Linked DNA regions of Homo sapiens: region 2 is linked to region 1. The links are contacts of gene promoters, found by promoter capture Hi-C in human tissues and cell types (Jung and others, 2019). All regions are on one chromosome and are shown on one strand. Each heading gives the region's core, a stretch centred on a gene start or on the middle of the fragment in contact. The rest is flanking DNA. Distances are from core to core; before and after follow the strand shown. Region 1 holds the start of TMEM154 (transmembrane protein 154). Region 2 overlaps FHIP1A (FHF complex subunit HOOK interacting protein 1A).

Region 1 (5,446 bases), core at 2,917-5,416:
AGTTTGCATTGCTTCATTACAGAATTGAGCCCATCCCAGTCAATATCTTCCCTCTTATGGTTTCCTGGGATTCCAAATTTCAGACACAGAAGGACTTTAAAGCTCATCCTCTCTGTCTGTTTTTTGGGGGAGTCCCTTAGAGTATTTGGTCGTAATGGCCAGTTCTCAGTAGGGCTCTCCCACAGTGACTGCCTGACATAAGGCTGTTCTTCTCCTCGCTGGTTCCCACACCCTGAAGCCTCTTACCCAGTGACTTCAACATTCTGTTTTTCCTGCTTCTAGTCTTAAATCCCCAGATTCTCTTGTGCTCACTCTGCACCTCTTTCAGCCCCTCCCTTCCTCCTCAGCAGTCTGAGTTTTAACCCAACTCTCATCATTCCTCTTCCTCTCAGCCAGTCTCTGACCCAGTGCAAACAAATGCAGCTCTATAATTGACATGCAGCCACCGCAAAGCCTAGCCAAGAGTTCTGTGCTGCACCTACAGCTGGAAAGGTTCAACAACCACAGTTTTCTAAACCCAAAACTAAACGAGTAGCCTGGCAGAGCTTGGAAACCCAGAGGTAGTATGGAGTATGGTTAGAGAATGGACTCCTGAGGCAGAATCTTACTTAGATTCACTAATTAGCTGTGTGACCTTGGGCAAGTCACTTAGCCTCTCTGTGCCTCAGTTTTCTCAAATGTAAAAACAGGGATAATAGTGCCCACCTTATAAGGTTGTTCTGAGAATTAAATGAGTTAGTGAATGTAGCATTTAGAATAGTGCCTGACCTATAATGAGTTCTATATATGTTAGCTACTATTGTTATTAATACTTGAAATTGGGACTGTCCCAGGAAACAGCAGATGTCAGCCGTGTTCATTAAAATAAGATATGAGATACCACAGTGTCAGAATGTGTAGCCTTACTTACATAGCTAGTATTTTCTACTATTCTTTCTCTCCTTGTCAAGATTCATCCAATACTTATATAATTCTTATTCTTCTGAACCAGCCCAGAAAATCTCCCATTCCTCTCTGTTTGGCCACCAAAACAGTCACAGCATCCTTGTTTCTGCCTCATGGCCTTCAGCTCTCCCTTCTGCAACAATTCTGCTTTTAGCAACTAACAAATCCCATGCTTTTGGTATTTAGGAAATTGCTTTTGGTTTTCTGATAGTATTAAGCTGACACTGACAGGGCATAAAGAACAGAGACGGGGACACCCCTGCCCCACTTTACTCCATGAGCAGAACATCTCCTTGAGTTTGAACTTTCTTAGGATCCTACACTGGCCAAGGCACCTAGGCCCAAGCTTTCCTTTAACTATGCTCACCCATTCCATTATAGTCCCAGAAAAGCTGCTTTCTTATTTCTCTCCTGGTGACTTCCAAGTGAATTATTTCTCTTGGGGTAGAACTCAATTCTATGTCAGGCTATCTATCTCTAAAAAGAGAAGAGGTCGCTGACTCAGAGGTAACAGTGCTGGTCTCATGCAACTGCAGATATTATCTCATGTTGCCTGCTCGTTGTTAATAAAGGCTTAATTTGAGATACATCTCAGAGTATACTCACAAACAGTGTCAGGCCCTTCAGTAGGTTGGATTCATCTAACAAACATCCCCAGGTATTTTTTGAAGAATTCAAGGAAATATACCTGTGACACCTAGAAAGTAACTCATATCCTGAAGCCTTAGGCACTATTAGCTAAAAGTAGTGTACATTAATTAATTTTAAAAATCTTTAATTTAAAATCACCTTTTCCATGATGAATCATCTCAAAGTCATAGCTTTTATTCAACAGCTTTTTGCAAGTGGGCATTTTTCAGACATTGGGAATCCCAGCAGGGCCCAATTAGCATGTTGGATTATTTAGGTAATCCCTGCACTCTACTGAAATGCAACTTTTCATCTTTGACTTCTCTTTACATTCCAACACTACCTGTTTTCAGGAGCTATCAGTTTTTTTTGTAATCAGCCTCATATCCATTCTAGGGATGATTTTCATATTTATCAACAATTATTTTCTCATTTATGCTGAGCCCTTACAGGATTTTGGAAAGTCAAAGGTGAACTACAGAGGATTTTCCCTGGAGCTGTTCACAGCCAGTTGGGAGGCATGGACACAATTATGGTTCAAAGTGATTAGCAGAAGTTTAGGTCTATCGGGGCACAGCAGCAGGTACGAGTAGAGCTCCAGGGAAGGGGCAGAGAAAGGAGACATCAAGGAGGAGATCACATTTAGTTTGATACTTTTAAGGTGATACAAGAATTTGCTAGGTAGGAAAAAGAATGTATTCATTATAGGCAAGAGCCACGGAGGGGGACGACAACTGGAAGGAGGTGCCACTGGGAAGGAGGTTGCAGTGAGAGTCTAAGGGGCAAAAATGAGGAACAAGTGAAGGGGCATAAATGAGGGGTCCTTAAGGGGGAAGATGTGCACGATCAGATTCAGGTGTCAGAAAGGCAACTTTAACCAAGTCTCTTCAGATTCTCTTTTTGCATCTCCTGAATTGCAGACACTAGGACTCAATCATTTTTTAGAAGCTAAAAAAAAAGTTCAGGCAAGATGAATTAGTATTAAGGGAGTGTTTGAGGCACCTGTGGCAGTGTTGTGCAATAGAAGAGGTGGAAGGAGGATGGCTAGGCTTTTCTTCCCTGATGTCCTACTACGAAAGGTTCCAGAGCTCTTGGCAGAGACAGTGATTGGTTCCGGGGCGGCGGTGGGGGGAGGGGGGCAGTGGTGGTGGGGGGTGGAGGAGCTCAAAGAACTCTGGAGTAGAAGCCAGAAGAGCTGACTAGCAGCAAGACCCAGACATCTCCCTTCTTCCACCTCTGTTTCTTCACCTGTGTGCCCAATATGGTTTGAGCTGCATCATCTTCAAGTTCCCTTCCAGCTCCAAAACACTGGGCATAAAACAACACATCAACTTCCAAACCCACTCTGAACACTAAACTCAATTTAACCAGACATCTTTTCAGCTGGAATGATTTGCCTTCCACTTTGTTTTCTACCTCAGATGCCTGGGGGACCACATGGAGAACACCCAGGGGAAGAGAAATTGATGGAGTGGGGTGGCTGGGTGCTGGCTGCTGACCTCCAGGAAGTTGTCACATCTGTTAGGTTGGGGCTGATGTCCCTCATTCTATCTAAAGAACTGTAGCTTGAGAACTTTCCTTTTGCTTGGTAAATACTGCCCTACACTAGAAGCAGTCGGTGTTCATTGACAGAAACAATGGGCAGCCAGTGTATTTGCCCAAAGGCAAGTCAACAAGAGAGGCAGCTGAAGGTGCTTGTGCTTGTTGTAGCAACTGGCAAGGGTGTAAATCAGTTGTTGCTTTTAGCCCATAATAATGAGATTCAATATTGTTTTTTCCAATACCTTTGATTGGTTCCAATCATATTACTTTTTCAAACAAATCTTCATTAGTAACAATCAATGCAAAAAAAAAATCTGTAAAAGTAACAAGGTGCAATAAAAGTAGATGAAAGACCTTACTTGATGTGTTAGAGGGCTACCCTCTAACACATAGCTCTTTGGTAGCTCTTCGGATAATTTCCCGTTTCCTTTTTTTTTTTTTAAGTTTATGTCGTTTCTTTAGTATGCTTTCTAGTAGTAAATTTTCACACCCCAGTTTTTCCAGGAGATTTTGGAATCAGCAGACTTCTCAGCCCACACCATAAAAAGCAAATTAATCATGTCTCTGTTTCAGCCAATTGAAGCTTTTGTTTTTTTTTACATAAACTGCCAAAAAGTTTATGGTTTTCTTAATATGCCCATTAAAGCTGGTAAATTACAGGGACGCACACTTCCTGGAAGACAAAGACTGAAAGAGGGTTAAATGAAGTGAGAGCTGTAGCCAGTTTAGACAGCTGCAGCGAAAGCGAAGTCCCCTCTCCATCCCACCCCCCAAAAAAAGGAGTTCTAATTTTCTCCACTTCTTTCACAGAAAGGATTAGATTTTCTGGGTGTCACCCTCCCCGGCAGAGTTCTGTAGCCTCGGGCACCCTACCAGCTTTTGCGATCCTCCTTCCCAGGAGTAGGAAGTGGAGGCGGCTTACCCCGGCCGACGGGAACGAGCGCGATCACCAGGGCGAAGACTAGGGCTGCGCGGGGAGCCTGCATGTCCGCTCGCCTCGGCAGAGGCGCGCTCAGGATGCTGCGCCGGGCTGCAGCCTCTCTGAAACGTGAACATTTCCTGTTTCCTGCTTGTTTGGGTCGGTGCTGACTTGAAGGAGAGGTGTGTGCCTGTTTTTTAGGAAGTGATGTAATTCTGCAGGAGCCTGTCAGACCAGCAAGGATTGCAAAAGAGAAGTTGCTGTTGAAGCACTGGTTCTATTATCACGCCTCTCCAGCCCTTTGGAGTCCCGGCCTCCAGCTTTTGAAACCGTCCCCGGGGCAACAGAGTCCCTTGCTCAGATGTCGTTCGGTATCTGGGACTGGGAGGGGTCCTGGACCACACGCATTCTCACTCTGTGATTTTGCTTATCCCCCAGGTGAGGCTCCGGGGCTGCCTAGACCCTAGGAAGAAGCTGTCCTGTAGAACTTTCTGCCCTGATGGAAATGTTCCAAGTCTGCGCCGTCTGATACAGTATCAGCCACATTGGCCACTGAGCATTTGAACTGAGGCTAGTGCTGATGGAATTTAAATTTTATTGAATTTTTATAAAATTTTAATAACTCCAAGTGGCTAGTGGCTGCTGTGTTGGATAGCGCAGGCCCAGACAGCAGGGACAACTGCATCATCAGAAAACTGCCAGACCACTTCTCTCCGCCAGGTCCATTCTCCTTTCTCCACTCTGGAATGCCCTCCTCCCACCAAGGCCCACGCCAGATGGAGGTGGATGCCACACCCACACCTTAAGGTTATGTTCTGCTTCCCCAGAGAGAAATGATCTTTTCAAGGTCCATTTCCAAAGGAGAATATGCTCTGAGGGTGGAGGTAGGGGTGAATCTGCATCTCACCTTCCTTCCTTCTTACTTGACAATCAAGTTCTCAGACAACAAACAAAACAGGACAGAAACGAAATAGAATAATGGTAGAAATCCTATCCAATCGAAACAATACAGAAAGGTTGTGTCTAGTATACAGTGGAGATTAGTGTGTGTTGGGTGTTCTATTGGAGGTCCTTCCCTTGGTTTAGGTTTAGGGCCTAAGCATTCAGAATGCAGTTTCATAATCGTGGTGCCAAGAGAGACAGACAGATGGAGAGAGGGGTAGTGTTGAGGCATCAGACACATCTCATCTCTAAACCTTTCCCTGCAGATCACCATCTGAGTCATGACTTCCCGTCGTTTGTCTTCAGTGATCTGGTTGGTGCAAACGTATGAGGTGACTGGAATTCCTTAGCCCCTGACATAGCTGTTAATTTTTCTTTAATGCATTGCTGCTTTTCAATGTCATTAGTCACTGTTTATCTCAGTTATTATTCACAAGAAATAGGTTGGTGATTCATGTAAGGATCAGT
Region 2 (6,166 bases), core at 1,809-4,308, 1.1 Mb before region 1:
TTCATACTTAAAAAAAAAAACAAATTGGAGTGGTTTAAATGTCACTCCGATCACTAAGAACCTATCATGGTCCCTGTGACCTGCAGAAGATAATCCAGAGTCCTTAACCTGGTTTTGAAAACCTCTCCTGATGTGGCCCCATCCTGCCTATGAGCCTTCCTTCCCTTCATGATGTTCAAATGCAGATGTAAAGTCTGATCAGTGCCCTCATCATCCTCTGAACAGTTCATTCTTGCTCCCGTGTTCCTGCTGGATTATCCTTTCCATTCCTTGCCTGTTCATCCAAAGTGTACTCATCTGGGCCAGGCGCGGTGGCTCATGCCTGTAATCCCAGCACTTTGGGAGGCTGAGGTGGGGGGATCACTTGAGGTCAGGAGTTCAAGACCAGCCTGGCTGACATGGTGAAACCCCATCTCTACTAAAAATACAAAAATTAGCCAGGCATGGTGGCGTGTGCCTGTAATCCCAGCTACTCAGGAGGCTGAGGCACAAGAATCACTTGAAACCGGGAGGTGGAGGTTGCAGTGAGCTGAGATTGCGCCACTGCACTCCAGCCTGGGTGACAGAGAGAGACTCTGTCTTAAAAAAAAGAAAAAGTGTATTCATCTGTTAGGTCTCAATACAAGCACTGCTGTGGGCAGAAGCCTTGCACTGAAGCATATGCTGACTTCTCTTATCTCCAAACTGCCAATGAACTTTCACATAGGACTGCACTGCTTAGTACTTGTTCATCAAATGAGCTTTATCTGCCAATTGCTGGAAGTTTTTTGAGGGATAAATGCTTCTTATACTTCTTTTGTGTATCCTCAGCTGCTAGTATATTGTACAGCTGGAAAACACTCAATATATATGCAGTTGGTTAAATAGATGTGTCAAAAGAAAGTGGCTAGCACTCATCACTATATTAGAATAGAGTGATGTGTTGGTTATGCTGGAAAATAAAATACCAGGGCAAAGAATTGAGATTAGCACTTAGTTTTATGTCACTGACATGGAATCAAAGAATGCTTTGGGACAGACTTTTGTAACAGAGAGGGTAGATCATCTAGTTCATCATCATTTTACAGCAGAGAAAACAAAGGCTCATGATTTGGAAAGAAATGTTCAGAGTCTGTGAGCTTAATATTTGTGAGAGGAATAGAGGATATGAAGCAGATGATCTTTCAGTTCTTTAATATTTGATTATGTTTACAAGGTTTGTGTGGTAGCTTTATGTTTGCATTAGAGGGTCCTCTAAGTGTTCCAAAGTGCTTTTCTATTATCCTGTAGATCCTCACTTCTTTATGTGCTCGCCAAAATCTGTGGAGGAAGGCACTTTTCACAGAAGCCTTCACATCTCATCGTTTACCTTCTTCATTGACACATGTCAACTCACTGCGGTAGATTACATAGTATGCAGGCCTGAGACATCAGGCTTGTTTTCCGTTTGTAGCAGTTGGGACACCAGAATATTACTTCACTTGCCCATGGTCACCAGATGCTAAGAATTAAAATGCAAGTGTCTTATATTCATTCCCATTGCAGACCATTTTCTACTACTCCATGATGTTTTTCTCTTCTTTAAATTATCATCTGGAGACCCTGAGAGAATCCTGGCTGAGAAAGGGAGCACATTTGTGATTCCCTGATCAGCAAAGAGATCGGTTAATGCAAGTACCTTAAGCACCCAGGGTAGAAGGTTATGAACCCCAGATTGGAGAAAGGATGGCCTGGCTTTGATGAGTGCTGAGAGAGGATGCTGCCCTGTGCCAGAGTGGAACAGGAAGCGGGAGCTGATACCTGAGAAGGACAGGTCAGCTAGCCAGCTCTCAGGGAGGGGTTTCCAGGACAGCCTTATTACTTGCTTTATGTTGTAGACTTCTCAAGACATCCATGATCATATTTAACTATTGTACAAAAATAGCAAACAAAATATAAGTAGTGTTTTGGTCATTTGTGCCACTGTTTTTTTCCAGTAAATTAAAACAATTTTTGGTTTTTAACTTAAAAAATTAAATGTTAGTGTTGTCTCTTATTGGTTAGTTAACAGAAAAGCTAATAGAGAAGTTAGTCTGTCTAGTGTATATTTTTAAACAGATTTCAAACACTGAGTTGTTGCATGAGTAAGTCATGAAGTCAATTTGGTAGGTCACAATTTAAAGTTGAATAAAATAGAAAATATCAGAGTGCATTGCACTTAGTAATGGTGAGTACTAGATATTATTGTAAAATATTTTTATTTTGATGAGTCTTAGTGTTAAAAAGTTTGAAAACACTGAATGGGAGAATGTTACTAGATTACTTGTTACTTGATGTTACATTTCTGCTTTATCATGGGCTGCGAATAAATGTTAGTTGGTATTCTTCAGTTCTAAAACATTCATTTGTTAATTATTTCATTCAACATATATATTTTAAGCACCCAATATATGCCAGGCACTGTTCTAAGTGTTTGCTGGGGTTGAGATATCTATAGCAATTTACTTACAAAGCATATTTTATTTCTCTTACTCAGAGAAAACACTGAATCGGTGTGCCTAAGGTTTAGCTGTGGATAACAGAAAACTCCCTTTACATTACAGAAAACTCCCTTTAATGATCCTTTCATATTCTGCACACCAGTTCTATTTACAACTCACTAGCCAAAACATACATAGTAACATCTAGATGCAAAGGAAGCAGGGAAATGTGGTTTTTTATTATAAAGTCAGGGTTTATTCCCAAGGAAGAGAGGGAGAATAAATATTGGGGAGACATTTAGTAGTGCCTGCCATAAACCTCAAAGCTTCTTACATGTAAACAAAATTTCATTTCCATTGATGGGAAACTGGAAATTTCTATTATTATAATTATTGGAAAGGCACAAGCTTTGCAGGGCCACTGCATAGAGTTGGGCAGGTTGTCTACTGCACAAGGGCAGCCTGCTGAGGGTGCAGATAGGAGAGATGGTGTTCATGTTCCATTTGCCAGACTTTGTGTCCTGGCATGGGGCTGTGTCCACCCACAGGAAGAGGCACCCTTCTCTAATTGGCAGAAGACACCTTCTTCTCTGGCCAAGCCATCTGCTTACCAAACTGTGGGCTTGGGGGGCTACTTTGCCCAAAGAGATCTATTTCTAATTTGCAGAAATGCCCTATATGGGCTGGCTGTGGCTCAGAGGCCAGTCTCAACTAGCCTAGAGGTCGTCTTAAGCATTTGACCCTGACATACCTGATTCTGTCCCTTCTTCTAGTATAGCTCTTCTTGCCTGGTTTTATATTTTTAAAATAATAGAAGTTAGCTGACAAAACTGTATGCATTGTCTTATCACAAATAGGCACAGAGTAAATTTTCAGAGGCTGAGTAGATCTACAGGTCCTACAGAGTCTCCTCATCCCTGACCTCTCCATTACTTCTCTTCCATTGTAGGAAAGGAAATTAGCATTATAAATTAAGCTTACATTGATCTCTGATTTGAAATGGAAAATTAGATATCTTTTTTTTTTTTTAACTTCAACAAGTGCATGAGGGAGATAATGGTACCAAACGATTGGGTTCTTAAGCATCAGAATTATGAAAAGATAGAAAGGGTCCCACCCTCCCTACACACCGAGAATAAAAAAAAAAAACCCCACACAAAACCCCACCTTATCTAAGGCAGCCAGGTGGTATTCATCTTGGAAACAAATGCAGAGAGTGGAGGGAAGATCTGGTCTGAAAGTTGGTGTGAATCTTTTATTCTTTCCCTGCACTATCCTAAGAGAACATTAAAAATTTATCAGCAACAAAGGCCCTGCAAGATTTTCTTCAAGTAAGAAAACCAAAAAGCAAGGAAAACAGAGAAGGAGTTTAGTCTGTTTATTTTATCTTCTTGCTAAATTTTCTCTCACCGCACACTAAGTTTTTTTTGAGGGCTTGCTGTCCCCTCATTTTTGTGTCTGACTTGCGTTTCAGGTGAGGTAAAGCAGGAATCATTCTGATGGGATGCTCCTCTGTGATTATCCAGTGCCAGATGATGTGCAGGTCTGGGACAACAGAGAGAAACGAACAGAATAACTGCAATTATTGAATTTGTTTGGGCAGATATGTGTGTGTTTTCTGCCTTCCCATTGTATTGAGGTCTTTCCGGTGCTCATGGAAAATAAGCTAGGAGTGAAATCTGTCTTTTATCATCAGAGCTTGCTTTGTTACTTTGTTACAGTTTGAGTGTCTAGGAAAATTGGTCTAAACTTAAATTCCACTGCCGAATGATACATTTAACCCATCAGGGAGATTGTGTGTGTGTGGCAGGGGGTGGTGGGGGGTGCGTGGGGGAGGAGTTGGGGGGGTTGCGTGGAATGGAATGGCAGGCATTAGATGCTGCGTTTTTGCAGTGGTTCTCAGATACTTCATTCTAGAGAAGCTGCTGGTTGGGGTTCTGGCCCATGGACCATTTCCCCTCTACTGTGGGTTTTAAAGTCAGTCTCATCAGCATTCAGTAGTATTGTCTTATTAATCAGGAAGATAAATAGGGAGAAGCCTGAGGAAGCATTTCTTTTTTTTTTTTTCCAGTGGATCACTTTTCGAGGTTGCCATAATTGAAGAGCATGGAATGAGTTACGCTCTGCATTTTCAATGAAATGTTATTCACTATAAATGGAAAATTTCCCCTGCTGTTCAGGCATTGTAAAATTAATATAACTACCCTGCTAAGGAAGGCATCCCCAACATGGGCTGTTGGAAATCCAGTGTTTTTATTAGTAACAGGGCTGCTGATTTCCATCTTGACACATTTATTGATTACTCTGAGTACCTGGTGGTGCATCAGGTCCTTTGAGAATTCATGTTGCAGGTCAGTTGTAGTCATTTCTGCAGTAAGTTTGCAATCTTAAAGGATGAATATGTGTATTATGAAAACTGAGAAGGGGAACTGACAGCCTAGAAAAGGGGAGTCTGAGAGGTTTAATAAGAATTCTGGAATAGGAAAGTTGAGTTTTGGGGGGACAGCATTTCTCCATCACCACTTATTAAGATGAGGGCAGGGTAAGGTACAATTTAAATTACAGCAGGTGGAATCTCCCTTTATAATGAGGAGTACTTTCTTCTGATGCAAAAGATTATGAGCCTCGACTAAGCTGTGTTGCTGAAAGAAGCCGTGTAATCTCTGTTTGAATTTGAAAGAAGGGTGTCGTGGGTGTCTGTGTTTTGGCAGCCCAGCACCAGACCTCTTTTTCTTTCTAAGCCTGTCTCTCCAGCCTTCTGGTGATTCTGTGAGACACCCCTTCAGTAAGTATCTTTTCTGCTTGGACCATCTGGAGTTAGTTCTCATAAGATTGTTGGGACTCAAATAACTGAAACAATATGCTTCGAATAGTCCTTAGTTGCATACTCGGTGCTCAGTAACTGGTCAGTGATGTTGTTTTTATTGTTTCTTAAATTGTAACCAAGAAGTTTGAATCAAAAAAGGACTCTGTGGAACAATTAGTAAACAAGAAAGAGAAGAACCAAGTGATCTTTGGAATACCCCTCAGATCTTTGTTTCTGAGCCAAAATGCCCCCATATTTCCTTGTTAATTATTACCTCAGGACCATGCTATGAATTACCTTTCTTATGGGTTATTTGGGTATTCAATAGTTAAACTTTATTAGATGAGGTTCAAGTATAATGGATCATATACTGCATTATACTCTAATAAATTATATCATAATGAAGCTGTAGGGTACAAGTTATGCACACATAGTATAGGAAAGGAGGCTATAGACGTAGCCATTTGCTGAATCCTCCAAGGAGAGAGGTTTATGATAAGCAAGCAAAAATAACTTTGGATGTGATGAAAGCAGTAACCCTTCAACTTGGCCAACGCTAGTTGCAGCATCGGCCCATTGGACATAGGACCATTTTTATTGGCAATGACAGCTTTATTCTTGTTCTGTCAGTATTGGTCAGCTTGTCCTGTGGGATTAGAATCAGGTTTAGATTGGCTAACATTGGCAAATACAGATGAAAATATGTTTTAGGGAGTTTCTGTGTCCCCTCTTAACCACAGCCTGTTCTAGGACACACTGAATCTTTGGGGCTGAGGTAGCCTATCCCTTGTGACCACCTCAAAATCTTCTGATTCTATAAAATGCCTGGGAGGGAATGGGGAGGGAGTGGAAATGGATGAGGTGTTCATTTTCTATAAGGGAGGTTGTACTTTTCCCCCTCCACCCCCGAAAATATGTACAG

The links. The method cuts DNA at HindIII sites, captures the fragments that hold promoters and counts their contacts. A contact is called where the count stands out against the background at its distance.
Region 2: a fragment that was not itself captured here is called in contact with the fragment with the promoter of TMEM154 in region 1 in 1 of the 25 tissues and cell types used here (aorta).

The regions. Positions count from the first base shown.
Region 1 is chr4:152,675,831-152,681,276 of GRCh38, forward strand. TMEM154 (transmembrane protein 154) reads right to left here and starts at 4,167. Exons shown (of 7, transcript NM_152680.3): 1 at 4,040-4,167. The coding sequence starts at 4,103. LOC105377495 (a long non-coding RNA gene) reads left to right here and starts at 4,255. Exons shown (of 4, transcript XR_939359.3): 1 at 4,255-4,474; 2 at 4,757-4,843; 3 at 5,245-5,310. RefSeq lists enhancers at 644-733, 3,801-4,630, 3,941-4,250. The HindIII fragment of the contact is 4,840 bases long and covers 2,496-5,446 here.
Region 2 is chr4:151,617,304-151,623,469 of GRCh38, forward strand. All of the region lies in intron 7 of FHIP1A (FHF complex subunit HOOK interacting protein 1A), which reads left to right. Among named protein-coding and RNA genes, the nearest start is that of GATB, 140 kb to the right of the region's middle. The HindIII fragment of the contact is 5,758 bases long and covers 180-5,937 here.